Linked DNA regions of Homo sapiens: region 1 is linked to region 2. Evidence: promoter capture Hi-C in human tissues and cell types (Jung and others, 2019). All regions are on one chromosome and are shown on one strand. Each heading gives the region's core, a stretch centred on a gene start or on the middle of the fragment in contact. The rest is flanking DNA. Distances are from core to core; before and after follow the strand shown.

What was found. The method cuts DNA at HindIII sites, captures the fragments that hold promoters and counts their contacts. A contact is called where the count stands out against the background at its distance.
Region 1: a contact is called between a fragment that was not itself captured here and the fragment with the promoter of CST2 in region 2, in 4 of the 25 tissues and cell types used here (dorsolateral prefrontal cortex, liver, mesendoderm cells and 1 more).

What each region holds. Positions count from the first base shown.
Region 1 is chr20:23,702,089-23,707,230 of GRCh38, reverse strand. No RefSeq gene overlaps it. Among named protein-coding and RNA genes, the nearest start is that of CST4, 16 kb to the right of the region's middle. The HindIII fragment of the contact is 5,877 bases long and covers 1-4,866 here.
Region 2 is chr20:23,825,479-23,830,691 of GRCh38, reverse strand. CST2 (cystatin SA) reads left to right here and starts at 3,963. Exons shown (of 3, transcript NM_001322.3): 1 at 3,963-4,259. The coding sequence starts at 4,032. The HindIII fragment of the contact is 9,318 bases long and covers 1,487-5,213 here.

The sequences.
Region 1 (5,142 bases), core at 679-3,178, 120 kb after region 2:
GTGAGGTGCTGGGGACATTTTCTGATCAAGGTTCTACCTCTCCTCGCTGATTTAGGTAAAAACCGAGGGGGTGGTAGGGCCTTGTCTGGGGCCACTCCTACACCAGGACAGTTTGAGGCAACATGACTATGCACAGGAGTGACTGAGAACCGCGGGAATGTGTTCCCCTCACCCCAGGTTAAATGCATCCCAACTCAACGTCCTCTTAGCCAGATATCAAAATGCCTGGGTCCAACCTACACCATCCGGAGGGTGGTGAATGTGAAGAAGAAAGCCAAAGTAGAAAAAGCCAATGTTCTTAACTGACTACAGTGAAAATACCACACACTTTTTTATTGTACAAAACATCCAGCAAAGTAAAGCTGTTGCTGAGGCCCACTTGGAGCTTTTTGTGGGGTTTTTGAACAGCTCTGTACTTAAAAGTCATTAGCATCACTAAAGGTCTGGATTTTTATTAGAAGACTTTAATATTTTTGTAAGAGTGCATGGTCCCAGAGGAAATGGGAGGGAGGCAAATCCACCAGCCACAAAAGTAGGAGACATGGAGAAGAAGTGAGGGAAGGAGAAACTCATGCAGAATAAACTTGCATGGGCATTGGGAGCTGGCAAGAGGCTTTCCACTGCATGTAAAGAAAGGTCCCAATTAAAAATGGCTTGAATGCAAAGGGAGTACTCTACCTGTCATAATAAGAAGGCCCTGGGTGAGACAGGTTTTAGGAGCAGAACTCCCAGCATCTAGCTCTGCTTCCCTGGGATTCTCTCATCCTTACCTTTCTGTTTATGATGCTTCAGCCTCGAGCTGGTAGCAAGGTGTTTGCTACAGCTCCAGACATCACATCATCAACACCAACATCCAGAGGCAGAAAGATCCTAGGGAAAAGCCTCTGTTCCACCCGTCCTTCCTGAATGTGAGTAACCTCCTCCTATGCACTCCTTAGCTCATTCCTTCTCATGCCTCATAGGCCAGGTCTGGATCACAGGCCCATCCCCTACACCAATCATACATTTAATAGATGTTAATAAACCTACACTTAAAATATGTTAAGAATCTATTAATATATCATTTACAGTGTCACCAACACTCAGTGAAACCTGTGGATGACCATGGCAATGTCCTGGTAATAGCACAAACTTTGACATGATCAAAATGATGTCATCACTAGAGACTGCTCAAATAAATTATAGAGCACACACATGATGGAAGAGCGGTTAAGAATTAGATAGCAACATATGTGTTAAACTGGAAATAATTTTAATATATCTTGAATATATTATTTTATTGAAAGCAAGGTATATGTGGTGTGTTAATATAAAGCTTGTAAAAACAAAAGTAAACACGCATGTGTATGAGTGTATAGACATTTAGACACATATTTACACATGTGGATATACACATAAAAGCCTAAAATATAGGAAAGGAGACAGGCAGTCAGTCATTTGTATTTATTAACAGTGGATACCACGGAAGAGAGGTGGTAGAGTGGGTAGGGAGATGGATAATTTGGCTTTTGCTTTTTTTTATATTTAGGATCTTTATTTTCCATTTGAACATTACAAAAATGTGTGTGTGTTCTTTATACATTTTTTTTAGTGTCAGTTAGGAGTGTTTGGGTGATGAGATTATAGGTTATTTCCCCTTGGATCCTCCCTATGTCTCTATTTTTAAAACTAAAACTAACAAATACTATGGCTGAATGACCTATTGGTGTGGTTGATATGCCCACATATGCCTCACAGCTTATCAACTATGAGTTAATCGGCAGTTTATTTTCAGCATAGGGTGTTCTCACAGCTGGGTACAGTGGCTCATGAATATAATCCCAGAACTTTGGGAGACCAAGGCGGGTGGATGATTTGAGGTCGAAAGTTCAAGACCAGCTTGGCCAACATAGTAAAACTCCATCTCTACTAAACGTACAAAATTAGCTGGGCATGGTGGTGTATGCCTGTAATCCCAGCTACTTGGGAGGCTGAGGCAGGAGAATCGCTTGAACCTGGAAGGCAGAGGTTGCAGTAAGCCATGATCACACCATCGCACTGTAGCCTGGGCAAAAAGAGTGAAACTCCTTCCAAAGTGGGAAAAAAATTGTTCTCACATGCTCCCTGAGTTCTGAAAGCCACTTAGTATTTAATAAGTGTTTGCTTGTTTTTTGTGGCACTGAATGTCTTCAGATACATGCTCTGAGTTCCTGGGGAAGAGAGGATATCTTAGGTCACATTCCCTACAAAGCCTTCACCACCAGAGAAATCATCACTGCTGTGGACTCAGTGACTGCAATTAGCAGGTGGGCTCTGGCTTGGCTTTAGAGTGCTCCATTTCATCCTCTTTCATTCTCCTGTATTCTACTTTCATTGAATGTAAAGAGGAGATAGCCTGATGCCCAGTTCAGTTGAAAGTAATGGATATGTAAAGCTCAAGAAGTGAGTCTGCATTTAATTTCAGTGCAAACTCATGGCATTGCATTTACAACTCAGCATCCATACTTCAACATTAGAATAGTGTAATAGTCACTGATCTCATTAGGAGTCAGATGAGTATTGTAGAAATGGTGTGTAGGTATGTGTATGCACACTCCTGCACAAACACGCTTGTAATCTTTGGAGTACAATGGAGTTTCTACAAACTCTTTGTGGACTCTCATATTAAGAAACTTTGTTCTGAAAACCTCACCAGCCAGTCCCTACTCCCTTTCCCTTCCCCTGAGTGGAAAGTCTGAAAGCACCAGGCAATAAACTTCCTGGCCTTCCTCACCCCCCGGGGCATAGGACCCAAGTCCAGGCAGTAACATCTAAGAAGGCAGCCAGGTCATTACAAAAAAAAGAAAAAAGAAAAAAGAAAAAGAAAAAGGAAAGAAAAGAAAAGCCTGTACTGAATAGAAAAGACAGGGTCCTCGGAATGAATCCTCTCTCTCTCTCTCTCTCTCTCTCTCTCTCTCTCTCTCTCTCTCACACACACACACACACACTCTCTCTCCCACTCACTGTCCACACCCTCTTCTCACCCCCTGTGACCTCCTCCTGCTCCTACTCCTCACGTTTCAGGCAGTAGTGTGGGACAGAACGTCTCCAACTATGGTGTCTGCCTTTCACTTATGAGCCATGTTCCCAACAACAAGAGCCCAATGAATGATGGAGAAGATGGAAGGAAACCACCTGGGCCCCTGCTAAGGACCCTGCACCTACTCTGTGAACACCACCCCCATGGCCTTTGGTGAATCACCAGTGTCATCATGGGAGAGGCAGCCAGTGTTTCTCAGGACTCCTGCTATCTGCAGCCAGGACACTTCTACAAATGATGGAGCTGACACACCACTAAGTGCCAGTCCCAGAGCCAGGGTGGCAAATGAAGCTTATTGTGCAATGCGAACAAAATTTATCTGAAAATTACATGACCTGCCTTATTGTCCCCAAATTCCCTTCTACATATTTCCACAAAATTACAAGGGGTTTATGTTACCTGCCTAGCCTTCCCCATCAGGTGGATCCAAAGAAATTTGGTAAGTGAAATATTTCACCAAGTCCAATACAAATGGAAGCTTTGGTTTTCATTTTACTAAGGAGTAAAGAGGGAAAAATAGTACTAGCTGAGTAAGAGATTTTCAAGAACAGGGAACTTTCCAGATAAAACACCATTTTTCCAAATAGGTCTCAGGTCTAAATACATTTGGAGCATCCTACCCCTTGAATCCTGGGAAAAGAGACATCCAGTCTCCCAGACAAGAATTGCCCCATCCTCCAAACATTCACAGATCTAACACCCACTGTAGTTTAAAAGGCAGGATATTTGTGGTGTGGGTCCTGACTCCACCATCTCTTGGTTAGGGTTCCTGGAAACAGACTCAGATGGAAATTCAAGGGCAAGAGGCTCACTGAGGCATGTGCTAGGGAGGCAGGGGAATGGGGTGGGGCAGAGGAAGAAGTCAGGCAGGGGTGCAGCTCAGCAGAGGGGCATGAGGTGGGGCAGAGGGAAAAGTCAGGCAGGGGTGCAGGTCAGCAGAGGCCAAAGTCAGGCCCATGGAGATCTCTGCAATGGGGATGGCCTCAGAGTGGTAGCATATTAGGGCAAAAGAGTCAACATTTTGTACTCCCTTATAGACCTATTATTTAAAATAGGCAATTCCAGGAGGGACATGAACTTGGACAAAGCAGCTCCCTTTGACTCAGATCAATGCCCACAGAAGGACTCAGCTGTGAGCCATCAGTGGCCACACTCCCAGTAGCTGAGAGAATGAAGTCTCACTGGTAAAGCAGAAACTGATAGATGGAACCCTTAATGAGAGAGCTAGGGATGTCATCTCTAGGAGACTCAGTTAACTTATCTGTACAATGGGAAGAATTATAACTATGACTACATATGGTCATTTAAGAAATAAATGAAATTTTGCTCCTCTCATGAAGTTATTAGCTGGTTGCTTTGTAGTTTCTATTGCATAGTTGCTTTACAAAGTCTGTGGACTATGTACTTGTTTGTTTTTATGTTAGCTGGATCTTTCTTTTGTTTTCATGTGTAGTACTTCCTTAAGAATCTCTTGTAAGCCTGGTCTACTGGTAACAAATTTCCTTACTGATTGTTTGCCTGAGAAAGATTTTATTTCTCTTTGCTTCTAAAGCTTAGTTTAACAGGATATGAAATTATTGGTTGAATTTTCTTGTCTTTAAAAATGCTGAAAATAGGTTCCCATCACTTCTGACTTGTACAGTTTCCACTGAGAACTTTGCAGTTAGCCTGATGAGGTTTCCTTTGTACATTATCTGACATTTTTCTCTAGATGCTTTTAAGATTTTTTATTTAATTGACCTTGAAAAGCCTGGTGACTATACGCATTGATGTTCATTTTGTATAGTATCTCGCAGGTGTTCTCAGTATTTTTTGTGTCTGGATGTCTATGACACTAGCAAGATTAGGGAAATTTTCTTGGATTACCTCAAATATGCTTTCCACATTGTTTATGTTTTCTCCTTCTCACTCAGGAATGCTAACAATTCAGAGGTTTGGTCATTTTATATAACATCATATTTCTCAAAGACTGTTCATTTCTTTTGTCTGACTCGGTTAGTTCAAAGCACTACTCTTCAAGCTCTGAAGTGATTTGTTTTGTTTGGTCTAGTCTAATAATAAAGCTTTCAATTGTATTTTGAAAT
Region 2 (5,213 bases), core at 2,714-5,213:
ACAATACGCTTTAAAAAGTAGCCTCTTTCTCCACACGCACAACAGACACAACATTTGCCTAAGGTCATCAAACATCTGGAGCAGCTGGCCAGCTACCCCCACCTGCCACTTCCTATCACTCCATACTGGACATCGCACTTGTACCTCCTCAGAAAAGCAACATACATTGGTATCTTTCCTACTGAGATTAGAGAGGTTGCTGCATCAGGACAGCTGACCCTCCCTGCAGTGCATGCCAGCATCCTGACACAAGATGACCACTGGTGGTGTCATCACATACACGGCACAGATCAGCACTTTGGCCTCCCTCCCTCACACTCCACCCACCAGCAAATTCTCACTATTTGGGTTACCTGTTTGGGAAAAGAAAGAGAGATCAGACTGTTACTGTGTCTATGTAGAAATGGAAGACATAAGAGACTCCATTTTGTAAAAGACCTGTACTTTAAATAATTGCTTTGCTGAGATGTTCTTAATTTTGTAGCTTTGCCCCAGGCACTTTGACCCAACCAGGAGCTCACAAAAACATGTGTTGTATAAAATCAAGGTTTAAGGGATCTAGGGCTGTGCAGGATGTGCCTTGTTAACAAAATGTTTACAAGCAGTATACTTGATAAAGGCCGTCGTCATTCTCTAGTCTCAATAAACCAGGGGCACAATGCACTGCGGAAGGCTGCAGGGACCTCTGCCCTTGAAAGCAGGGTATTGTCCACGGTTTCTCCCCATGTGATAGTCTGAAATATGGCCTGGTGGGATGAGAAAGACCTGACTGTCCCCCAGCCCGACACCTGTAAAGGGTCTGTGCTGAGGTGGATTAGTAAAAGAGGAAAGCCTCTTGCAGTTGAGATAGAGGAAGGCCACTATCTCCTGCCTGCCCCTGGGAACTGTATGTCTCAGTATGAAACCCGATTGTACATTTGTTCAATTCTGAGATGAGAGAAAAACTGCCCTATGGTGGGAGGCGAGACATGTTTGCAGCAATACTGCCTTGTAATTCTTTACTCCACTGAGATGTTTGGGTGGAGAGAAACATAAATCTGGCTTACGTGCATGTCCAGTCATAGTACCTTCCCTTGAACTTAATTATGACGTAGATTCTATTGCTCACATGTTTGTTGCTGACCTTCTCCTTATTATCACCCTGCCCTCCTGCTATGTTCCTTTTTGGTGAAATAATGAAGATAATAATCAATAAAAACTGAGGGAACTCAGACCGGTGCCGGTGCAGGTCCTTGGTATGCTGAGCGCCGGTCCCCTGGGCCCACTGTTGTTTCTCTATACTTTGTCTCTGTGTCTTATTTCTTTTCTCAGCCTCTCATCCCACCTGACTAGAAATACCCACAGGTGTGGAGGGGCAGGCCACCCCTTCAACCTGCATCTCCTTTCCAGTGATAAAAAAAAATGAGAGGATTTCTTGACCTTCAGCTTATCCTCTGCACAGCAGCTCTTCCTGAGTCTGGACTCCCAGCTATCCCAGGAAGGTGGGAGCCACAGAGGAGAACTAAGTCCTACCCTTTGGAGATGACCACTCTGCTCACAAACACCTGGTAAGGGACTTCCCTCTCTCTCCCTTCTCTGGGAATTTATCCCCATTCCCTGTCTAACTAGGAGCCATCCTGCGCAGCCCTGTTTGAAGACCTTCCCTCCATCACCCAGCGGTAAACACCATCCCTGGGACACCTGCTGTATCTGCTGGGATGCATGGTTTTTCTAGGTGTGCTGGATTGACAGTGGTGTGCAATGGTCACTGGGCCTTGGATAACAAGGTCCCCTGTCCTAATACTGAACATGAACACCAATGAGTAATATTGTTCCTGCTGCCGGGTCCTGCTGATGCAGCCCCAGCCACGGCTGAGACCCAGGATCCCAGCAGCTCTGGGTTGACTCTGTCTGACCCTCACCTCCACTACTCCCAGGAGAGTCCTCTGGATGCCATGCAAAGGCCCAGGGTTTCCTGGTGTTTCTCACCAAGCCTTCCACCTCACCACAAGGGCATTTGCCACAGGGTCACCTTCAGGCATGGAGGGTTGGGTTGAGAGAACAAAGGGAGCAGCTGTCTGTTCAGGGCCTCCTTCCATCCTCCCCAATCCTGGAGCCACATTCCAGCACAGGCCCACAGCATCCCAAGCTGGAGACTTTGTCACCCCACAGAGCACTGTGGTGATTAGGTCCTCTCAGTCTGTGGAGAAGGAGAACTCCCAATCCTGGCAATGAAGCAACTTGGGGGCCACTGGAAAGCCACGCTGAGCAAAGGACGAAGACACATCTGGGATTGCTCTGCAGGATTCCATTCCTGGGAATCTCAAGGGCAGGTGACAAAGGAGTCTACAGGACTGGACAGGGGCTGCCAGGGTGGGGTGGGCACGAGGATGAGCTGCAGAGGCAGGAGGACACCGTCTGGGGCAAGGCAGATGTCAGAGGTCTGGACAAAGTGGTAATACAGGTGTATGTATTTACAAAATCTTCCAGGTGGGCACATACTATTAGGCATCTTACTGTATGTAAATTCTACCTCCTTCAAGGCAATTTTTAAAATATCAGGTGGGTCTTCCAAGCAGTGCATAGAGGAAAGAAGCTGGAAGCATGGCTGCCTAGGAGAGAAGCAAGTGAGGCCTGTGGGCTCCCACATTCATCCCTTGGCTTCTGCTCCCTCTTCTGACACCCCCACTGCCTGCCAGGTGTCTCCCTGCACCTTGTGGGCCCCACCCACAGTTACCATGAGACACCAGGTCATTCCCTTCCCTGCTCACATCCCCTCCAGGAGCTTCCTCTTCCTGGAGCAGGCATGTCCCAATCCCACCTCAGGGCCTTTGCACTGGCTGTTCCCCAATGCCTGGGGCTTCTCAACCTCTCCAGTCTCATAGAGACCACCCTGACCAGGGTCCAGTGGTCTCTCTCTAGCCCCTGTTCTATTTCACTTCCAACAGAGTGAGTATAACTCCCTGATCCTAATTGTTGACCATAACCTATCATCCCCTACACACACTGTGTAGGAACGGACTGTACAGTTTCATAGCCACCTGCCACATGTGCCACGGGACACTTGAAATGGGGCCAGTCCAAAATGACTCCCAGGCTAAGTGTAAAAAATACACAGCGAATTTCAAAGATTTACAAAACCCCTCCAACAAAAAAAAAATCTCATTAATAATAGTTCCTATTAGCTGAAATAATATTGTGGCTGTATTAGGTTAGATAAATATTTTAAACATTACTTTCACCCATTTTTTCTCATCTTTTAAAATGCATCTACTACACATTTTCATATGCTCGTGGGTTCATGTCACATCTCTGTGGGCAGCAGCTCTGCAATGTCACCTCTATGGCTCATCATCCAGGTTCAGTATTCAAGCCCTAGACCTCCTGGCACGGGGAGTAGCTGGTGATAAGTTTTTTTATTGAATAATGAGTTATGAAAAGAGAACCCAGTGACCTTTTCAAAAAAGGTTAATTCCCTTGAATTTGGCAAAGAAATTCTCCATAATAGGGTGTGGACAGGGTCTTCTGGAACCTTCTGAAATAACCTCCCTGTTCCAGAGATTCAGAGACCGTGACCAAGTGCTCCTGGATGCCTCTGATATCTGAAGACCCCGGAGGCCAAGCCCTGTATTTTTCACTTTTCTGAGCAAACAGGAGGTCACATTGTTTTCATAGCCAAAGGAGAAGTGTCATCTCTGTGGAGACCTGGTGACTCAAGCTTGGGAGCACTGGGGAAGAGAGGCATGGCTCGGGGAGGCTGCAGTGAGGACAGGAGTGGGGAGGAGGGGTAGATAGAGGAGGAGGCCTGGGAGGGGCAGGGAGAACTTAGGCAGGGAGGGATCTTGTGGTTTCTGAGGAGTGAAAAGAGAGATGGAGAAAGAGGGAATGAGCAGAAAGAGGAGGAGGAGTCAGGGGCAGGTCATGGAGGGGGGTGGGGCTGAGCTGCCAAAGCAGGATAAATGCACAGCTGCCTGCTGGTCTGGGATCCCCGCCTCAGGCTCTCAACCTCCTCTCCTGCAGCTCCAGCTCTGTGCTCTGCCTCCGAGGAGACCATGGCCTGGCCCCTGTGCACCCTGCTGCTCCTGCTGGCCACCCAGGCTGTGGCCCTGGCCTGGAGCCCCCAGGAGGAGGACAGGATAATCGAGGGTGGCATCTATGATGCAGACCTCAATGATGAGCGGGTACAGCGTGCCCTTCACTTTGTCATCAGCGAGTATAACAAGGCCACTGAAGATGAGTACTACAGACGCCTGCTGCGGGTGCTACGAGCCAGGGAGCAGGTGGGTGCTGCCTCCACCTGAGGGGTCCTGAGTCCCAGCCTTGTTTGTTGCCCGATCCATAAGAGCATTCGCAGCACATCAACACTGATACATTCATGATCTAATGCTCAGATTCATTCAGCTTTCCCTGACTCTCTGCTTATGGCCTTCATGCCTAAGCATGCTCCCGGGGGATGGAGACTATGCTGACTCTGGATGGGCTTGATGCTGCTCAGGATGAGATCCAGGCCATGAGGCTCACCCTCCTCCCTGAGTCCTCTCCTCAGGGGCCACACAGGAACTTCGCTTCCTGTTCTGCAGAGCCCTACTTCACTCCCCAAGTCACACCCGTGGGTACAGCCCTTTAGGGCTAATGGCCTTCACCCTCAGGCCGGCTGACCACCCCCTACAGCCCAGGGCAGCTGAGTCCCTGCTGGGGTGGAGCACGCCTGACCCTGCCTCTATGAGTTGATGCAGAGTTAGACCTCAGCCAGATGAGGACAGCAGTTACCCAGTAGAGAGGAGGAGGTGTCAGGTCAAGAGAGAGCTTCAGAAGGGCTATTGGGCCCAGCTTTACCTGCATCCCATGGCAGAGCAGCAAATAGTGACACAGGCTTTAGAGCTCCTCCACCTTCTCTTGGAAATTCAAAGGAATCCAGACCAGCCCCATTTCTCCTCCTGCAGCTGTCAACTGGGACCCTCACCCTGCACGGGAGGTGCACTCCCTGGTGCCATGGTCCCCGCTTGCCTCCACCTCCCTTTCAAGCATGACAATAACTTGGAGTGAAGCACAGGGCATTGCAGACCATCAGGCCCGGACGCCTATTTTATACATGGGTAAACTGACACCCATGGGTAAAAAGAGTCAGTGTTCCCTTGCCCCTGAGCCACAGGTGGCAGAATTCAATGAATCCTTTTACCCAGCACAGAGAAAACAATATTTAAGAGGGGGCATGAGGCCCAGCACCCTGCCAG